Regions from separate parts of the Homo sapiens genome. Here regions 2, 3 and 4 are each linked to region 1. Evidence: promoter capture Hi-C in 16 types of primary human blood cells and fetal thymus (Javierre and others, 2016). All regions are on one chromosome and are shown on one strand. Each heading gives the region's core, a stretch centred on a gene start or on the middle of the fragment in contact. The rest is flanking DNA. Distances are from core to core; before and after follow the strand shown. Region 1 holds the start of NOP10 (NOP10 ribonucleoprotein). Region 2 overlaps EMC7 (ER membrane protein complex subunit 7). Region 3 has its middle 16 kb from the start of PGBD4. Region 4 overlaps KATNBL1 (katanin regulatory subunit B1 like 1).

Region 1 (5,139 bases), core at 440-2,939:
TTTAATCAAAATCTTATTTCAAGGGACAAGAAATTACGTTAAGTGACAACAGAGGTATTTTTCAGTGAATGCTGACAGCTGTGAAAGTCTTAATCTTTCTTCCCCAATACCCTCCTATCATGAACAGCACATGACCACTCTTGCAACAGCAGGACTGAAGTTTTTCTTCCAAGTGGTATTGTTGCAACTCTCTGGGGTACTCTCCTTTATCATCTCCCTCCCTTTAAAAAAATACTGCCAATCCTTTCCTCCAACAACTCACAAAATAAGAGTTTTTCAAATCATTTTATCTTTAATAATCTTGTAGTAATTTAAAATATGAGAAAAAAAAGTCAAATGTGTTCCCTTTATGGGTGATGCCACCATGATTGCCTCACACAAGCATAATCAATCGCCACGAGAGACTGGATGCCAAAGAGTATGGCTGGCAAAAAGGCATCAGGGCTCACAGTCCGAAGAGTTTGGTTACGGAGTCTCCGAGGGGTAACAGGTGGCAGAAAAGACATCAGTTTAAGGGACCCTCAGAGGACAGGGCGCGGTTGCTGGGTCATGAGCACCTTGAAGCGTTTCTTGATGGTGATTCGGTGTCGAGAGTATTTGTCATCTGGGGAGAACCGAGCAGGATGGGCTGAGCAGGTCTGTTGTCCCATCGGGTCAAATTTCTGCTCCAGGAACACAGAATGTATGTCAGTACAGGAGTGATGAAATGGGGTGGGGCCAGCGCGAAAAAGGGCAAACATGAAAATAGAAGATGCAATGGTCAACTCAAAAAGTTGTACAAATAAATAGAGAAATATAAAATTTAAAAAGGCCGAGCGCGGTGGCTCACGCCTGTAATCCTGGCACTTTGGGAGGTCGAGGCGGGAGGATGGTTTGAGACCAGCCTGGGCAATATGGCGAAACCTCGTCTCTACAACAAACAAACAAACAAAACCAACCAACCAAACAAAAAACCCCAAAACCAAAAATTAGCCGGGTATGGTGGCGCACGCCTGTAGTCCCAACTACTCGGGAGGCTGAGGCAGAAGGATTGTTTGAGCCCAGGAGGCGGAGGTTGCAGTGAGCCGAGACCGCACCACCGCACTACAGCCTAGGCAACAAAGCGAGTCCCTGTCTTTAAAAAAAAAAAAAAAAAAAAAAAGGAAAAGTGAGTGCAATGGCGCTATCCCGGCTCACTGCAACCTCTGCCTCCCGGGTTTAAGCGATTCTCCTGTCTCAGCCTCCCGAGTAGCTGGGATAACAGGCGCACACCGCCATGCCCGGCTAATTTTTTGTATTTTAGTAGAAACGGAGTTTCACAGTGTTGCCCAGAATGGTCGCGAACTCCTGAGCTAAGGCAATCCACCCGCCTCGGCCTCCCAAAGTGCTAGGATTACAGGCGGGAGCCACTGCGCCCCGCCAGAATTTTTTCTTTTAATTAAAAAATGAGTCGCGCGGTCCCGGTTCTTCCCCACCTCGGTTCTGGACTTTCTGGTTCCCCGCACCCAGCTAGGTAACTCCACGTATGACCTCACCCACTCCTCCCATCTACATTTCTCGCCATGCCTATTTACACCCTGTTTTCTCTCCTCACCTTCAGCGTATAGACTCGATCTCCCTGCTCGTTGAGGTAATACTGGAGAAACATGATCGCTTATAAGCCAGCGGTCCCAATTCGGTCCACCGCTCAGTCTGCAGTGGTCCGCCCGACCGCGTCACGTGTTCGTCAATTTCCTTCCTGCATAACCGGAAGTCTCTCTCTCCTGGCACTCCGGAAAATGTAGTCAATTTTTGCCTTGTTTTCAGCTAGCCAGAAGGGGGCGCACGAGAGCAGGGCTTGGCTTGGGGCCCTACTTGCAACTTTGCAGGCTAAAACACGTGGAGTGTCCCTACTGTGTGCTAGGTACACGGCGTTAGAGGGGGGTAGGGATGGATGTGGATAGAATATTGACGTATAGAAGCCTGTCTTTGTCTCAAGATACACACCCATTTCAGGAGCAGTGAGTTTTCAATGCCTGAAGAAACAAGGGCTCCAGGATTCAGAGCCCCTTTACCCTAGGGAAGAAAGAAGAGGTTTTCTTCCCTCCCCTCTTTTACATCCAGTTCCCCTGCTCCATTTCAAAGCGTTGGCGGTAAAGAATGCATGTTGAGTATCAATATTCCGTAAAGCGAAAGAGCGTAAAGTTATTTTATGAAACTGGTGAAGCATGTTTCAGCGGTCGAACCAAGATTTAAAGTTAGGTCCCTACCGCAAATTCAGCGCTCTTTCTTATGGTGGTGAGTAGCTAATAATAACGTAATAAAGTGCACCTTCTAGGAGTTTTTACAATTTTTAAAAGAATATAGAAGTTCTCCTTATAAGACTCTCGTTTAAAGAAATGAAAATGAGAACCAAAATATCATTACAAAGATCATCGTTACGCCATTATTTACAATGACAAAAGCATTGGAATATATATTAACTGTGTAACCAGAAAAACCTGCACTTTTTTTTTTTTTTTTTTAAGAATATGGTTTGGCGGGGCGCGGTGGCTCACGCCTGTAATCCCAACACTGGGAGGCTGAGGCAGGCAGATCACAGGTCAAGGGTTCGAGACCAGCCTGGCCAATCTGGCGAAACCCCGTCTCTACTAAAAATACAGAAAAATTAGCCGGGCGTGGTGGTGGGCGCCTGTAGTCCCAGCTACTTCAGAGGCTGAGGCAGGAGAATCATTTGAGCCGGGGAGGCAGAGGTTGCAGCGAGCTGAGATAGCACCACTGCACTCCAGCCTGGGTCCGTCTTAAAGAAAAAAAAATATGGTTTGTGGCTGGGCGCGGTGGCTCACGCCTGTAATCCCAGCACTTTGGGAGGCTGAGACGGGTGGATCACAAGGTCAGGAGTTCGAGACCAGCCTGGCCAATATGGTGAAACCCCCAAAAATACAAAAATTAGCGGGGCGTGGTGGCGGGCACCTGTAGTCCCAGCTACTCGGGAGGCTGAGGCAGGAGAATCACTTGAACCCAGGAGGCGGAGGTTGCAGTGAGCCAAGATCACGCCACTGCACTCCAGCCTGGGCGACAGAGCGAGATCCTGTCTCAAAAAAAAAAAAAAAAAAAAAAGAATATGGTTTGTATTTACTTGTAGTTGCATAAAAAATCTCTGCAAGTATTCACAAGAAACAGATGATACTGGTTTCCTCTGGGATAGAGAACTTAGTTGCAGGAGAAAGGGGTAAGGGTTGGGAGGCAGACTTATTGCTATGTATTTTATTACGCAGTTTGATTTTTGAACCTTGCTAATGTATTTATTACCTGTTAAAAATTTTTTAAAGGCCGGGCACGGTGGCTCACGCCTAGTAATCCCAGCACTTTGGGAGGCTGAGGCGGGCGGATCATGAGGTCAGGAGATCGAGACTATCCTGGCTAACACAGTGAAACCCCGTCTCTACTAAAAATACAAAAAATTAGCCGGGCATGGTGGTGGGTGCCTGTAGTCCCAGCTACTCAGGAGGGTGAGGCAGGACAATGGCGTGAACCCGGAAGGCGGAGCTTGCAGTGAGCAGAGATCACGCCACTGCACTACAGCCTGGGTGACAGAGCGAGACTCTGTTTAAAAAAAAAAATTTAAATCTAAGTAGTTAATTTTGTTAGAAAGGAAAATGATGATTTTAGCCTTCAGGTCTTTAGAAAAGAGAAAAGATATCTCAGAGGAAGCAAGAAAGATGCCATGAACCCCAGGGAAGGCCTTTTGGGGGAAATCCACGTTTGGATGAAGCTGTGGCTGTAGAGGATGCTCTGGGAGTTACTGGCCTGAAATAGTCGCCAGGAACCTTAGCAGATAAATTTTATTTTTAAAGTTTAAACCAAAATAATTTAACAAAAAGAAGGACTTTCTACTCTTGAAATTTTAAACTGCATGGCAGCTTTTTTATTTAGTGAGGCTTTTCAGCAAAGGGTAAGGCGTCTGTGGAGTACAGAGCCTATGTTAGTAGATTGGACAGCTTTCCAAGGAAATGATGTGCACACAGCAATCGAGCACCTTGGATCATCTGACAATTCTAATTTTAAACTTTAGTTCCCTTGATCCTTACGTGTATAGACCAATGTACTCTGAATTTAGTTCAGAAAATATAGCCATCATTGAATTAAGTCAGGGGTCTACAGTCAACCTGCTGTTAATAGGAAGTCAGTTACAGAACTGGCTGGGATGGAAGGACACAAAATGAGATATGTTGGTGAAGAATCGAAGTGTAGTGAACCAAACGGTAAAACTGTAATGTGTTGGGAATCTGAGAAAAAGTTTACAAATAGCCCTAAAGAGGCAAACATCAATTGTGTTGCCAAACTGTAGTTTGAAGGGAATTCCTGGTTTTTTCATACTTACTAGAACCCTTCATGGAATATCTGTCCCCACCCTCACCCCACTTTTCCCTCTCCCCTCCCCCACAGCAGAATGCCTTGAGTTCCGTATTCTAGTTCTGTGTGATCTGATCTTTACCTTCCCTTCCTTGGATCCCTGTGCACCTACTGGAGCCAGGTTACTCTGGGTCCTGGACCTGACTGCCTCATTCTGGAGGCTTCCAGACAGCCACAGTTAGTGCCCAAACCTGAGAGGATGGCTTCAGATGGAGGTAAGTCTGCAGGTGGTGAGGAGGATTTCTGGTACCTGCTCATATCCTTTGAGACAAGCTCTCTGGGCTGACCTAAAGGAATGTGAGGTGCTACACCCCGTCAAAGGTATCACACTTGGGGAGGCTAGGGAAGGAGATTGTACCTTTAAGACTAGGGGCTGGGGAAGGAAGAGGACTTCCTTAAGGACAGATTAAGGTGTCTCTGAGGACACATGCTGAGTATAGAGAAAGGATGGCAATTAGCAACTTGATTCTCTTGAACAGGGGACACTTCCGCATGTGTTTTTGTGGTGGGAGAGAGGATCAGGGGTATGTGTCTTAGGACTGGCACAGAGAGGTTTCAAGGGGGAAGGCCCAAGTTCATCTGTCTTTTTTAGGCAACTGGAGCCTGTTCTAGGATTTTGCCATGCTTGAGCTTATGAGGGGAAGGGGATGTGGAGGATGGAGGATGGGAGGGTAAGGTGGGAAGGACCTTAGTGGGAAAAGATAATCTGTAGTTATCTGTTGCAGAGAAATGCCTTCCTGAAAACTAGGCTGGAATGTATTATAA
Region 2 (5,139 bases), core at 834-3,333, 250 kb before region 1:
AAGCTGGGGACCGTCTATATTTAAAACAATATTCCTATTTGCTAAGACTATTTTATTCAAAATTTAACCAGAGTAAAAAGGATTAAAAAAAAATACAAGTATTCCCTTTTGTGTAGCAGCTCTCATTCCGTCCAATATTGTGTTTTCAATATAAAAAAAATGTTTAAAGCAGTATATATAACATATACTGTGATCCACGTACCCCTCCATTTCCAAGCTTACAATTCTAAAATATACAAAAAGTCATGAATAAGTCCTTTAAGGCACAGATTTAATATAAAAGAACTTTACATATACACATATATGTATACACACACACACACACACACACACATATATATATATATATATTTTTTTTTTTTTTTTTTTTGAGACAGGATCTTGCTTTGTTGCCCAGGCTGGAGTGCAGTGGTACAGTCATGCCTATAATCCCAGCTACTTAGGAGGCTGAGGTGGGAAGATCACTAAAGGTCAATTTGAGGCTGTAGCGGGCTATGATTGCACCTGAGAAAAACCACTACACTCCAGCCTAGGCAACATAGCAAGATTTTGTCTCTCTACAAAGTAGGGGGGAAAAGTAATTTGTTTTTAAGAATATATTAGTGGCATTAGAGTATTACTTTCCTGATAATATCAAGAATATTCTCTTGGACAGGTGCAGTGGCTCACATCTGTAATCCCAGCACTTTGGGAGGCCAAAGTGGGCAGATCACTTGAGGTCAGGAGTTTGAGACCAGCCTGGCCAACATGGCGAAACCCCATCTCTACAAAAAAATAAAAAAATCAAGCCAGGTGCCGTGGCTCACACCTGTAATCCCAGGACTTTGGGAGGCGGGCAGATCACAAGGTCAGGAGTTCGAGACCAGCCTGGCCAATATGGTGAAATCCCGTCTCTACTAAAAATACAAAAATTAGCCGGGCGTTGGTGGTAGGTGCCTGTAGTCCCAGCTACTTAGGAGGCTGAGGCAGAAGAATTGCTTGAACCCAGGAGGCAGAGGTTGCAGTGAGCCGAAATCACACCACTGCATTCTAGCCTGGGTGACAGAGCGAGACTCCATCTCAAACAAACAAACAAAAAATCAGACAGGCATGGTGGCGTGCAGCTGTAATCCCAACTACTTGGGAGGCTGAGGTACGAGAATCCCTTGAACCTGGGAGGCAGAGGATGCAATGAGCCAAGATTGCGCCACTGCACTCTAGCTTGGGCAACAGAGCAAGACTTTGTCTCAAAAAAAAAAAGAATATTCTCTTGATAACTGTCTCTGTTTAGTATACATGCTAAAAGAAGAGAAAGAAATCACTGCTTGTCTATCAATAGGAGCCGGTTATATAAATGATGTCAAATCCACCAATGGACTAACACGCAGCTAAGATAAAGGATGGGACAACTCCATGTGTGACTCATTCTATTTGAATTATGGCATATTTACATATTACATTTTTAAAACTTTCAATGTCAAAGAAAGCAAAGAAAGAAGAAACAAATTACAAATTTTAGGAGTAAACACTAACTCAAATGTAAATAGTATGGTACTAACTGAACATGTGTCAGCTCAATTTTGAGTCTCTACAAGTCAGTCTAAATATGCTGCGCAGACACCAAAAAGATCAGTAGTAAAATTATTTATTAGTCCTCCACCTCCAGAAATTGTTTTTGCCTTTGCATGACCTGTGCTTTATTACTGCAACATAGTCATATTTGATAGCTTAAAGAAGAGACATTACCACTTAGGAGTTGCTTCATATATTTCCTGGTCAGATTTGACCAAAGAGGATGCTATTGCCATGAGACAACAAAATAAATAAATAAATGTGTTCTATTATAATGGGAAGCTGACTCTGAAGACTATAGATACTATACAAATGTTTCAACTTCAAATAGGTTTTGCTATTCCACACTCACAGTCTAAATTAGACTATAGTTCTTTTCACCTCAATTGTTTTCCCTAGAAATACTATATTTCCATTGAACATAAAAGATTCCATAAAGAAAGGACCACAGAAATTTCCAGATCAATGAAGTATCAAATAGGTAATAAGAGGTATTATCAAAATATCCCAGTGAAAAACAGGTGATGAATAGTATTTCTAATTTAGAAAAGTTAAATTATTTCCAACTTAATAATCATATTTCAATTATAACTTTCATAGCACTTTAGCTCCTATAGTAAGTAATCTTACCTTTTCTTTATGTAATCATATTAGGAGCTTTAAAATAAATTTTAAGCCAGAGCAAGAAGCTCAACTTTACAATTTTTTCAATGTTCAGATTAAATAAACGAGGATATTTTAAGTGTTTTAAGGAATAGCTGTAGTTTAAATAAAAAGAATTTTCCATCTAAACTATTAATTCTAAAAGGAATATATACTAAGGTATTCAGTAGCCTAGCTTTTGGCAAAAATTAAATCAGGTGCCCTCACCTCATTTTTCCTTTCGAAGTGATATCCACTCGAACGGGATCAAATCTGTAAGCTGGAGATACAACTTCCACTACATAAGATCCAGAAGGTATATCATGAACCACAAAACTCCCATCTGTCCTGGAAAAATGAAAATCATGTTTAGCTACTACTGATCAACAGCTTAGTCTTTTCTTACTTGCTAATTCCCAAATCAACTCTCCCGAAAAATGACATTAAAAGCAACGGGCAAACAAACAAACAAAACCTTGGCGAAAGTTGTCCTATGCTTCAGTTTCTTTTCTTTTTTCTTTTGAGACGGAGTCTCGCTGCGACGCTCAGGGTGGAGTGCAATGGCACGATCTCAGCTCGCTGCAACTTCCGCCTCCTGGGTTCGAGCGATTCTCCTGCCTCAGCCTCCCGAGTAGCTGGGATTACAGGCGTGCCCCATCATGCCCAGCTAATTTTTGTATTTTTAGTAGAGACGGGGTTTCACCATGTTGGCCAGGCTGGTCTCGAACTCCTGACCTCGGGTAATCCACCCGTCTCAGCCTCCCAAAGTGCTGGGATTACAGGCATGAGCCACTGTGCCGGCCTTCAGTGTCTATAATTACACTGAATAGGTTCTGAAAATACCCAAGACCACTCCAGGGTAGCAGAGAAGCCTGACATAGAAAGTAATTATTTTCCTTCTATGGGTAGAGATGACAGGTGACAGAAACACAATTCCCATTCTAAAGCCATGTCTTCATTGAATATACATTATTATTAAAATATTAGGGTTCCAATTTTGCCAGTCACCCCCAACAACTTCTTACTGTTAAAAATGGCAGGCCAGGCGTGGTGGCTGCCGCCTGTAATCCCAGCACTTTGGGAGGCCGAGGCAGACAGATCACCTGAGGTTGGGAGTTAGAGACCAGCCTGACCAACATGGAGAAACCCCATCTCTACTAAAAATACAAAATTAGCCAGGCGTGGTGGCGCATGCCTGTAATCCCAGCTACTCGGGAGACTGAGATAGGAGAATTGCTTTAACCCGGGAGGCAGAGGTTGCAGTGAGCTGTCCAGCCTGGGCAACCAGAGCAAAAACTCCATCTCCAACAAAAAAAAAAAAAGGCATTTTGTTCTAGTTTTAACTTGCAATTTTTGGTTTTCTGTTCTTCTTCTTTTTTTTTTTTGAGACGGAGTCTCACTCTGTTGCCCAGGCTGGAGTGCAGTGGCCCTATCTCGGCTCACTGCAAGCTCCGCCTCCTGCGTTCACGCCATTCTCCTTCCTCAGTCTCCCGAGTAGCTGGGACTACAGGCGCCCTCCATCACGCCCGGTTAATTTTTTGTATTTTTAGTAGAGACGGGGTTTCACCGTGTTAGCCAGAATGGTCTCAATCTCCTGACCTCGTGATCCGCCCGCCTCGGCCTCCCAAAGTGCTGGGATTACAGGCGTGAGCCACTGCGCCTGGCCGGTTTTCTGTTCTTTTTAACAAATAATAAAAGGTATTTAAGTACCATTTGTTCTATTTGCTATAAATAATTCCCATTTACTTTGGTTACTAGAAGCTTAAAATGTTTATGTAGTTAAAAACATCCATCTTTTCCTTACTGATTTCTTCTAAACTTCCTAGACTTAGAAAACCATCCTATCAAGAGCTGATAATTTCATTTCACAGATCAAAATTAATTTGTTTGAAAAATGAGAAACTACTATTCTGAGGGGGGAAAAAAAGTTTATGTTTCAGGAAAACAAATGGTTCTAAAATGACCAACTGTATCAGAGAATTCCCGATATCATAATAATATATTAAAATAATGCTTCTTAAATCCTCATAGGCTCTTTCATAGTTAAAGGAATAACTGATACTGATGATATCCACAACAGTTACTAAAAAGCAAGATGACGAGACCATCCTGACTAATACGGTGAAACCCTGTCTCTACTAAAAATACAAAAATTAGCTGGGTGTGGTGGCATGCGCGTGTAGTCCCAGCTACTCAGGAGGCTGGGGCAGGAGAATCACTTGAACCTGGGAGGCGGAAGTTGCAATGAGCCGAGATTGTGCCATTGCACTCCAGCCTGGGTGACAGATCGAGACTCCGTCTCAAAAAAAAAAAAAAAAGTAAGATGAAAAAGTGTCACTCCAGAGCACACTAAGCCAGAATTGAAATGTAAAAAAGTTAACTTATGCCTGGCCTGGACATGTTCCATTTGCCCTCTAGATCCACTCTCTACCTTTCTCCTCTTTGCAGACTGGAGGAAGGAAAGAAAATGAGCTTAGTCTATTTTCCCCCCAGACCTCTCACTGACAGGCCACCTCTGACTGGCTGTGTTAAGGGACTGGTTTGTGTCTTTCAATGCAGGCCTTTCTTCCCTTCAAGGTTCCAGTAACCTCTACTCTCCTCTTCCTTCAGGATTAGAGGTGGTGATAATAACCTTGAGGATGTAAGCTCCAGGGTACTGCACAATCTGGCTGTTTCCCAACACCATGACTACACTGTTTGATGCCTTCATTAAATTATCCTTGAATTACTCTAATTTGAGTGCATCTTCTACTTCTTAATGGGACCCTGACTGAACCAATTTCTTTCTTTCTTTTTTTTTTTTTTTTGAGACAGAGTCTCACTCTGTCACCCAGGATGGAGTGCAGTGAGGTGATCTCTGCTCACTGCAACCTCCGCCTCCTGGGTTTAAGTGATTCTCCCGCCTCAGCCTCCCTAGTAGCTGGGATTACAGACTACCGCCAGTAT
Region 3 (5,139 bases), core at 1,203-3,702, 230 kb before region 1:
TGAAGTGACCGGCTGGTTCCCACACTCCTTTGCTCATGTGCTCCATCCAGCAAGGGCTTGAGCAGAGTGGGCTGAGTAAATGGGGCACCCCTGTCATGAGTCCTACAAAGGGGTCAAGAAAATATATTGTATCGATACTGCTTTTGGAGCAGTCCTCTCCTTTATTTAATTTTATTTTTATTTTTATTTTTTGAGATGGAGTCTTCTTGCTCTTTCGCCCAGGCTGGAGTGCAGTGGTGTGATCTTGGCTCACTGCAACCTCTGCCTCCCGGGTTCAAGTGATTCTCCTGCCTCAGCCTCCCTAGAAGCTGGGATTACAGGCACACATCACCATGCCCTGCTAGTTTTTGTGTTTTTAGTAGAGACAGAGTTTTACCATGTTGGCCAGGCTGGTCTTGTACTCCTGACGTCAGGTGATCCACCTGCCTTGGCCTCCTGAAGTGTTGGGATTATAGACGTAAGCCACTGCGCCTGGCCAGTCCTCTCCTTTAGAATGGAGAATATTTTCCTAGGTATAGATTCTTCTAAAACTGACAGCGCCTCTCAATTTTCACATACATACATATCACCTGCAAATGTTGTAAAAAATGTACACTTTAATTAGGAAGGCCTGGATAGGGCCTGAGATTCTGCATTTCTTTCTTTCTTTTTTTTTTTTAGACGGAGTTTCACTCTTGTCACCCAGGCTGGAGTGCAATGGTGTGATCTCAGCTCACTGCAACTTCTGCCTCCTGGGTTCAAGCTATTATCCTGCCTCAGCCTCCCGAGTAGCTGGGATTACAGGCATGTTCCACTATACCTGGCTAATTTTTGTATTTTTAGTAGAGACAGGGTTTCACCACGTTGGCCAGGTTGGTCTCGAACTCCTGACCTCAGGTGATCTGCCCGTCTTGGCCTCCCAAAGTGCTGGGATTATAGGCATGAGCCACCACACCTGGCCCAAACAGGTTCTGCATTTCTAAGACGCTCCTTCATGCTACTAGCGGATGGAGCCACTTTAAGTAGGAAAGGAGGAGACCTGAGATTATGTATGGCCTTTTGTTCCTGGGTGGGCTTTGAGGATCCTCCAGTCCAGATGCTAAAATATAAATTCTTTTTCAGTTTTTATCATATGACAAACAGCTTCATAAAGTTTCACATAGCACTATAGGATCTCATTCTTTTTATTCTCGCTCACAACAATGCTATATCTTATGAGTTATTAAGGATGTAAATTTGGTATTCATGAGCTAAATTAGCAGAGTATGAGAGTTTACCACAGGGCTATGTCACAATTTTGGGGGGGTCCTAAGCACTTTTGCCTTTGTAGATCACTTTCCTCCATAAAAAAATTAAAAATTATATTTTATTGCTGCACTGAGATAAGGATAAATATACTACAGGCAGATTCATTATTGTATATTCACTATTGTTTCTTATTTTAAAAGGAATTAAGACATTTTTGTGGAGCCCTGAAAGTATCATTGGCGCTAGGCCCTGTATTTACTGTGCCTAATGGGAATGCTGGCCTTGGTTTGTTGAAGACTCTAATTCAGAATTCTACGGGTAAGACTGGCAGCCATACAATAGTTGGCAGATTGCTGAGCTCCCACAATTAATGGGCAGAGGCAGATGGTTGGAATTCCTATGATTTTCAGACAAGATGCTATCTGAAACTGGATCAGCAGTGTTGTTGTTAGTTGGTCATAATTTTCCATTGCTGCTTTTCTTGTTTGTTTTGTTTGTTGTTGTTTTTTGAAACAGAGTTTTGCTCCATTGCCCAGGCTGGAGTGCAGTGGCACGATCTCGGCTCACTGCAACCTCCGCCCCAAGGTTCAAGCGATTCTCCTGCCTCAGCCTCCAGAGTAGCTGGGATTACAAGCACACGCCACCACGCCTGGCTAATTTTTTATATTTTCAGTAGAGATGTGGTTTCGCCATGTTGGCCAGCCTGGTCTCGAACTCCTGACCTCAAGTGATCCGCCTGCTTCGGCCTCCCAAACTGCTGGGATTACAGGTGGGAGCCACCACACCCTGCCTCTTCTTGTTTTTTAATTATAAAAACCGTGTACTCTGTTAGTTTGTATGGTGTTAACCCTAGAAAGTTTAATGATACAAATGGATACATTTTTACCTATAATTTTCCCAAAGTTAGACTTTAACACAGGTACAATTGCAGTTTAAATATCAATCATTCAGTCCCTTGTTGCAAAAGCAGATGTATACATATATAATTTCCCACAGGGGTACTTTTTTAGTTGTCAGCTCATGTCTATAAATTCACAGTCTTCTCTTGTAAATACAAGTGACTCATATGTATGTTTCTTTTCTGTACTTTGTTTTAAACCTGAAGAATTAACTTGAATCTAGATGTCATCAATGAGGGTAGGAGACTAGGTAGAACCAGATGCTAAAGAAAGGGTGGCAAAATATCTTGGATAGATGGACTGAGAGTAACAAAAAGAGATCACTACAGTTTCAGAAAAGAAGATTCATGACAGGACCAAATCTGGAAGCCTCAAGGGAAACAGAGGAAAATGCTGGCCTGTCATTCTACCTCAGGAAAAAGGATATTGGAGAAGGGACGGTCTCCTGGGTGCATACCTCATAACTTTCATCATAAGTTATAATCAGACTGCAAATTCTCTTTATGCTAGTATATCATGTCATTTTCATCTGTGATTAGGGTTTTCAGTGCTCAACCTGGCTGGTCTATCTGAATGGTCATAGTAGGGTCTGGCTTTTCCTCTAATATTCAGACTTATACCCAAATATACCTACAGCAAGGAAGGCCTACCAGGAAAATGCCCCTTCCCAATACTCCCCTGACTTGTTATCTTAGTTACTGCCTGCATTTGACTCTAATTGAATGCAGAGCTTTGAAGGTTAAATGGCAATCATTTGGGCAGCTGGTTAGCAATGCATTCACTCTTCTTTTCTTAGGCTCTAAGTCAAGTTCTGGTCTGGAAAAGGGTGGTGAAAAAAGTGTACATACCTTGAGGAAGGAGCATTAGGAGTTCTCGGGTAGTGAGGACCCAAATGTTCTTTTTCTTTTTCTTTTTTTTTTTTTTTTGGAGATGGAGTCTCTCCCTGTCGCCCAGGCTGGAGTGCAGTGGTGCGATCACAGCTCACAGCAACCTCCACCTCCCGGGTTCAAGCGATTCTCCTGCCTCAGCCTCCTGAGTAGCTGGGACTACAGGCGCACGCCGCCACGCTTGGCCAATTTTTTAGTAGAGATAGGATTTCACGGTGTTGCCCAGGCTGGTCTCGAACTCCTGAGCTCAGGCAATCAGCCCGCCTTGGCCTCCCAAGGCATGAGCCACTGTGATCGGCCCAAATGTTCTTTTTCTTTCTAGCTTCAAAGGAGCAAGTGAATCACAGGAACCAGATGTACCATATATTTTTCATTTAGAAGATACCTATTAACAACCACAGGGTTTTTAGAAAGTTCTGAACAACTCAGAAACAAAGCAAACGACTTCTTAAACTTTAAATCTGGTTGCTACATGCTAATTATAATATAAATGGAACATTTAGAATGCTTTGACAGAATATAAGATCACATTCCTTTTTCTGTCATTTGAGCCTCTATATTTCAACACCCAAGAAAAAATGTCTCTATAAAGAATTACTAAAATTTATAAAGAAACAATATGAATCATGAATTTAGTTTAAGTGCCGTAATTTTTATTTTTTGAGATGGAGTCTGGCTCTGTCACCCAGGCCAGAGTGCAGTGGCATGATCTGGTCTCACTGCAACCTCTGCCTCCGTGTTCAAGTGATTTTCCTGCCTCAGCCTGCCAAGTAGCTGGGACTACAGGCGTGCACCCCCATGCCTGGCCACTTTTTGTATTTTTAGTAGAGACAGGTTTTCACCATGTTGGCCAGGCTGGTCTTGAACCCCTGACCTCAAGTGACCTGCCTGCCTCAGCCTCCCAAAGTGCTGGGATTACAGGCGTGAGCCACCGTGCCCAGCCCAAATCCTATAATTACATGTGCAACTGTACAGAAAATAGCCTGACAGATGACCTGGCCATGGAATAAACATAGCTTACATCAGATAGTGAGGGCATCCTGTGAACTTCCAGAAAACTGCAATCGAGTCATCTTCTTGAGTAAAGGTTTTGGCTGATTTGATAAGAAGTTCTGATAAGAAGGTTTAAAAAAGGACTAATGTATGGCAGCTCTAGAGAAATAGATTAAATCTTATTATAAGGAAGAGCTTTCTAAGTCAGACAGAATAGATCATTCCCAGGGCGTGGTCAGGAATTCCTGGCAGGAATAAGCCACTTAGCCACTTGGTGGAGATGCTGTAAAAGAGAATTCAAGTAACATATGGCTGTGCATGATCACTTTAATCTTGGGAGTTTGCGGTTCTTTATTTGGAGTCTGAACAGTTGTTTTAAACTGAGAGTTTATTAACAGTGGTTACGGAAAAACAACCATCATTTCTCACATGCCAAGTGAAAAAGATGAAACACATACAAAACAGAGTGCTAGCTGTTATCATTAATACACAATCTTTAAAAAAAAATTTTATTTTAATTTTTGTGGGTACATAGTAGGTATATATATTTATGGGTTATGTGAGATATTTTGATCCAGGCATGCAATGCATAATAATCACATCATGAAAAATGGGGTATCCATTCCTTCAAGCATTACCTTTGTGTTACAAACATTCCAATTATACTCTTTGTTTTGTTTTGTTTTTGAGACGGAGTCTCGCTCTGTTGCCCAGGCTGGAGTGCAGGGGTTATCTCAGCTCACTGCAACCTTGGCCTCCTGGATTCAAGCGATTCTCCTGCCTCAGCCTCCTGAGTAGCTGGGATTACAAGGCGCCCACCATCACACCTGGCTAATTTTTTTGTATTTTTAGTAGAGATGGGGTTTCACCATGTTGGCCAGGCTGGTCTCGAACTCCTGACCTCATGTGATCCACCCACCTCAGCCTCCCAAAGTGCTGGGATTATAGGCGTGAGCCACCGCGCCCGGCCACTCTTTGTTATTTTTAAATGTACAACTGAATTATTGATTATAGTCTCCATTTCGTGCTATCAAATACTATGTCTTATTCATTATTTCTATTTTTCTTTTGGTACCCATTAAACATTCCCATCACCCCCACAGTCCCTCATTGCCCTTCCCAGTCTCTAGTAA
Region 4 (5,139 bases), core at 1,951-4,450, 200 kb before region 1:
CCCTCAGCTACATTAATTCCCTGAAAGCTTCTGTCTCCTGTAAGAGCTGAACTTATCTTGGAGTAGAAGCCAGATTATCCCTCAAGGCTACCTAGGTTTGCCCAAGCCTCTGTTTCCCTTAGCATTGTATTTTTTTCCCCCTGAATTCTAAGAAGTTGTTTTGTCTCCGAGAAAAATGTTATAACTAAGTCCATGACATAAATCCTCTTATTTAGAAATATATATATATATATATTTTTAAAACCAAAGAATGCTTTTTATATTCCTGGCTAATGCCCATTTATGATAGCAGTATGCCCGGTAATAAAGTAAAAGTATTTCTTAATGACAATTTTTTCTTCAATTAATTTTTAACTACTAATGTTTTTTCTTTCTTTTTTTTTTTTGAGACGGAGTTTCACTCTGTTGCCCAAACTGGAGTGCAATGGCACGATCTCAGCTCACCACAACCTCCGCCTCCCAGGTTCAAGTGATTCTCCTGCCTCAGCCTCCCGAGTAGCTGGGATTACAGGCACGTGCCATCACACCCAGGTAATTTTTTGTATTTTTAGTAGAAACGGGGTTTCACCAACCAGGCTGGTCTCGAACTCCTGACCTCAGGTGATCTGCTTGCCTTGGCCTCCCTAAGTGCTAGGATTACAGGCGTAAGCCACTGTGCCCGGCCTAACTACCAATGTTTTCTGGAGTTTAAATATTAAAATTCAAACTAGCAATTTTTACTTTTTCCTTTACGAGACAAATCAATAAAGACCAAAGTCAAATTCACTGTGATTTAAATAGTTTACCTTCTCAAAAAGCATAACATTAGCAAAAGTAAAACTTAATCTCCAAAACCATTTAATTATGTTTCTTATCCCTTGTTTCCTGAGTTCCTCGTCTTGTTTTCTGATGCTGTCCTTATTGGATTCTCAAAATTTTTTCAAATACTTTTCTCTGATTAAAACCCTCTGTAAATATCCTCTAGCATAGCATTTCAGGGGCTGTACATGAAACATGTTCAATGGCCAATTCCTGTGCTTGCTGCCAAGGTCACAGTTACACGCAGAGGACCTGAAGCATTTGAAAATATGAAATTGACTTTAGACATTAGAACAGTACCATATTATTTTGCCTAGAGACTTGAAAATTAATTTATAAATGTAAAATATTATTTCTAATTTTTAATGTTTAATTTATAAGCTTAAATATAGATTACCTTAGCTATATTACCAGTATATCCTGGAACCAAAGTAAGATGGTTTTCCTGTTCCCATAATCCACTTAATTGTTGTTTTAAAATTTGAATATTTCTAAAAGAAAAAAAAGGAAGAAAAATGAGAAAGCAAATACATTAAGATACAAACTTTCATCATAAATATGCATAATAAAAACTGTTCTAAAATTTTTCAGGTATTTTTCAGGAGAAAATGATGCTATTTGAAATAAAACATTTGGGAACGTGGAGAGAAATTAAAAAAAAATCAAATAACTTTTAGAATAATACATGTCAGTCATGAAAATTAAAGGTTTATCCACATAATACCGCCAAATGCCTCCTATTTAATTAATTCTTGGAAACAACAAAGGATGTTTTTTCAATTCCAAAATTAATAAAATTTCTTACTTGATTTCAATTAAAAAAAAAAAGAAAATTAAAGGTTATTTAGTTGTCAAAGCAGGTAAGAAAATGACCAGGCGTTTGGAACATTTGGACATTCCTTGGTGTGAAGTAGAAAATTTTGAGAGCCTACAAAATAAATTGTGGCTTTTTTTTTTTTTTTTTTTGAGACAAGGGCTGGCTCTATTGCCCAGGCTGGAGTGCAGTGGTGCCATCTCGGCTTACTGCAACCTCCACCTCCTGGGCTCAAGCGATCCTCCTGCCTCAGCCTGAGTAGCTGGGACTACAGGCGCACACCACCATGCCTGGCTAATTTTTGTATTTTTTGTAGAGACGGGATGTCATCATGTTGCCCAGGCTGTCTCAAACTTGTGAGCTCAAGTGATTTGCCCTTCTTGGCCTCCCAAAGTGCTGGGATTACAGACAGGCATCAGCCACCGTGCCTGGCCCAAAATTATGGACTTTAAGGAAACTGTTGGGAGATATTTTTCTGTGGTTTCATGATAATCTGGCTATACTCTGGTAGAATACCCACGAATTTTCACATCAAGGCAGTAATAATACAGTTTTTAGAACTGTAAACATCAACACCGGACTCTCAGGTTAATGTCTAGGTAAAGGACCCCGCAGGGTGCCTCCATTCCTTATTACACTGTGGGCATCTCTTTTTCCTCCCTTACTCATAATGAATATGAGAATTAAACCACTATTGTGTTTTTCTTCTAAAATGAAGGGTAGGGTTGTGCCAGAAGAAGAGATACAGGAGGTTAGTAGGCTCTGGAATTCAATTTCCAGGTGTGGTTTTCACAAATGAACAGTCTCTTAAGTTAGTATCTCTCTGAATATAAAAAGAATAAATACCATACACTGATGATAATGGGATAAAATTATTACCTAGTTTAATCAAGCTGCTTTCCTGAAGAAAATTTCAGCATGAGTTTATCTTTAAAGGTATACTCACCCATCATTTATAATTTCTGTTTTGGATGATAGTTCTGACCACCACCTTTTAATGACTGCTTGAAGCCAGTTTAAACCAACTATAACATATCTGAAATGACATTTTGTTACAAAATTCAAGTGTTTTCATCTAAGAACCCTTCTTATAAAAGATGATACTTTCCCTCCCAAAAAACACACACACACATTGGTCCCTTCCCTTTTAAAAAATTGTTACCTTCATGATCTATTACACAAAAGTATATTTCATGTAATTTGTTTAGAGATGCTTTTATAATTGTCCTTTAGTCATTTCATATTCTTTTCCTAATTGTACTATTAGCTTCTTGAAAACAGAAACCTTGCATGTCTCATGGAGCCCAATCTACTATGTACTCACAAAGCACAAAATCAAGGATGCTGAAAAAGAAAAATGAATCAAGATTCAGATTAGCACTTACTCTTCAAATTTGCTTTTAAGTAGTGACTTTACTAGAGGCAACAAGTCAACACAGCAGCCAAGTGAGATATATTGTTTTTCTTCCTGTAAACTAAAATAAATACCAAGTTATAAAAATATGGATGGGCCATAATTTGACCTCCTTTAATCTTATTTTTTTTCTGAAAAATATTGTTTTTACCAATTGGTGAGCACAGGAAGGCAATCTACCACAACGCCAAGATCTTCTATCCTGAGAGTATAAAAAGAATAGCATTGCCTTAGAGAGCTGATTTCCTTATTTACTTTCATATTATGATTATTCACACCGCTTTTGAGAAATTCATTCATTTAACAATGTCAGTATCTACAATGAGTCATGTCTGTGGATACAGCAATGAACAAAGACACAGGGCTTGTATTCCAGTGTGTGAGCAACTGTGGGGGTTGGGGGGTGGGACAGAGACAGGCAATAAACAAATAACAAGACATAAGACATATAGAGCAGGTTGATATAAGTGCTATGGAGAAAAATAAAACAGGAAAGCGAGATAGGGAGTGGAGAAATAGGTATTTTAAAATAAGTTGGTCAAAGAAGGCTTCCCTAAGGTAACATCTGAGAGACTTGAATACAATGAGGAAAGTAATGCTTCAAATTCCCACTCAAAAGGGATGTTTACTTTTTATTTTTAGTAATTTTTTTTTTAAGAAACGGGTCTCATTCGGTTGCCCAGGCTGGAATGTAGTTGCATAATCACAGCTTACTGCAACCTCCAACTCCTGGGTTCAAAGTGATCTTCCCAAGTATCTGGGACCACAAGCACGTACCACTGTGCCTGGCTTATTATTTTTATTTTTTGTAGAGATGGAGTCTTGCTATGTTGCTCAGTCTCTCACTCCTGGGCTCAAGGGACTCTCTCACCTCAACCTTCCCAAATGCTGGGATTATAGGCAAGAACTGCCACACCTGGCCTCAAAAGGGATTTTTAGAAGGTTAGTTTTCCCATATCGTTATCTCTTAGTTTTATAGGTAAGAATGACAGTCAGGAAAGGTAACAGCTTTGTTCAATCTGATAAAACATTGTTTTCTGTATTTTGGTTACTCTTAGATGGGTGAGGAATGTAATTTAAGCCATACTGTCTCTACTGAAGCTACATATAGGCAGTTTAGAATAATGAAGAAGGTTCACCTGAGCTCAGGAGTTCGAGACCAGCCCGGGAAACATAAGACCTCATGTCTTCCAAAAAATTTTTTTAAAAAATAGCCAGGTGTGGTGATGTGCACCTGTACTCTCAGCTACTCAGGAGGCTGAGGTGGGAGGGCTGCTTGAACTCAGCAGGTTGAGGCTGCAGTGAGCCATGATTGTGCCACTGTACTCCAACTTGGATGACAAAGCAAGAACTTGTCTCAGAAAAAAAGTGATTGAACAAAGAGGATAAAAGGTCACACTTACCTCAACAAATAAGCTACAAGTTCACTTATACTTCTCTTTCTCCAGAAAGTTAAAGCTACATTCAATCTCATATTCCTGCTGAACAAAACTTGGGCCATTGTTTCATGGTCCTGAGAAACCTGAAAGGCAATAATCTGATTTGTTAAAAAGCACACTGAAACAGGGTATGAAACTATTTTTTTATTAAATCGTTCTGGTAGACATAGTTAAAAATCATGCAAAAGTAACTCCTTTTACTAGCCCACAAAAAGGAATACTGCAGTTGACCACAGTAAACAAATGATCTGAACAAATTTAAGACCCATTTATACTTTTCACTAGCTACCATTTTTCTTTTAAAACCCAATAATTTATAAAATTATTTTTAGCTGACCTATAAACTAGGACTTAATTTATAACATGGATAAAAGAAAAATGTAAACATGTAGGCTAGTCATTACCAACTGAATGGCAGGAGAATCACAAAAACTCAGTTTTTGACAAGTGTTGTAGTATCATTTAAATTTATCTATTTATTGTTAAGTAATGAAGTGTCATTTTCCTGTTCTAATGTGTTTAACACAGAACTATGTAAGATAAAAAGTAAAAACTCTCTGCCTGCCCACAAAAACATCCAATATCACTCCGCAGAAATAATCACAGTTAACAGACTGATATGTATCTTTCCAGACCATTTTCTAGACAAAGACAAATTAAGTACACATATAAAC

What was found. The method cuts DNA at HindIII sites, captures the fragments that hold promoters and counts their contacts. A CHiCAGO score of 5 or more calls a contact.
Region 2: a contact is called between a fragment that was not itself captured here and the fragment with the promoter of NOP10 in region 1, in 6 of 17 cell types (neutrophils, naive CD4 T cells, fetal thymus and 3 more). The highest score is 9.8, in neutrophils.
Region 3: a fragment that was not itself captured here is called in contact with the fragment with the promoter of NOP10 in region 1 in 1 of 17 cell types (neutrophils); the score reaches 7.8 in neutrophils.
Region 4: a fragment that was not itself captured here is called in contact with the fragment with the promoter of NOP10 in region 1 in 1 of 17 cell types (neutrophils); the score reaches 6.1 in neutrophils.

The regions. Positions count from the first base shown.
Region 1 is chr15:34,341,447-34,346,585 of GRCh38, forward strand. It overlaps NOP10 (NOP10 ribonucleoprotein), which reads right to left and starts at 1,690. Exons shown (of 2, transcript NM_018648.4): 1 at 1,574-1,690; 2 at 273-662. The coding sequence starts at 1,627. The coding sequence ends at 522. NUTM1 (NUT midline carcinoma family member 1) reads left to right here and starts at 1,869. Exons shown (of 8, transcript NM_001284292.2): 1 at 1,869-2,256; 2 at 4,496-4,589. The coding sequence starts at 2,251. RefSeq lists silencers at 1,433-1,542, 1,623-1,722. The HindIII fragment of the contact is 8,760 bases long and covers 1-5,139 here.
Region 2 is chr15:34,093,474-34,098,612 of GRCh38, forward strand. EMC7 (ER membrane protein complex subunit 7) reads right to left here. Exons shown (of 5, transcript NM_020154.3): 2 at 2,422-2,541. Among named protein-coding and RNA genes, the nearest start is that of EMC7, 5.8 kb to the right of the region's middle. The HindIII fragment of the contact is 3,737 bases long and covers 216-3,952 here.
Region 3 is chr15:34,115,268-34,120,406 of GRCh38, forward strand. No RefSeq gene overlaps it. Among named protein-coding and RNA genes, the nearest start is that of PGBD4, 16 kb to the left of the region's middle. The HindIII fragment of the contact is 6,969 bases long and covers 1-5,139 here.
Region 4 is chr15:34,144,203-34,149,341 of GRCh38, forward strand. It overlaps KATNBL1 (katanin regulatory subunit B1 like 1), which reads right to left. Exons shown (of 10, transcript NM_024713.3): 5 at 4,430-4,548; 6 at 3,178-3,228; 7 at 2,998-3,087; 8 at 2,559-2,648; 9 at 1,196-1,289. Among named protein-coding and RNA genes, the nearest start is that of PGBD4, 45 kb to the left of the region's middle. The HindIII fragment of the contact is 4,046 bases long and covers 1,178-5,139 here.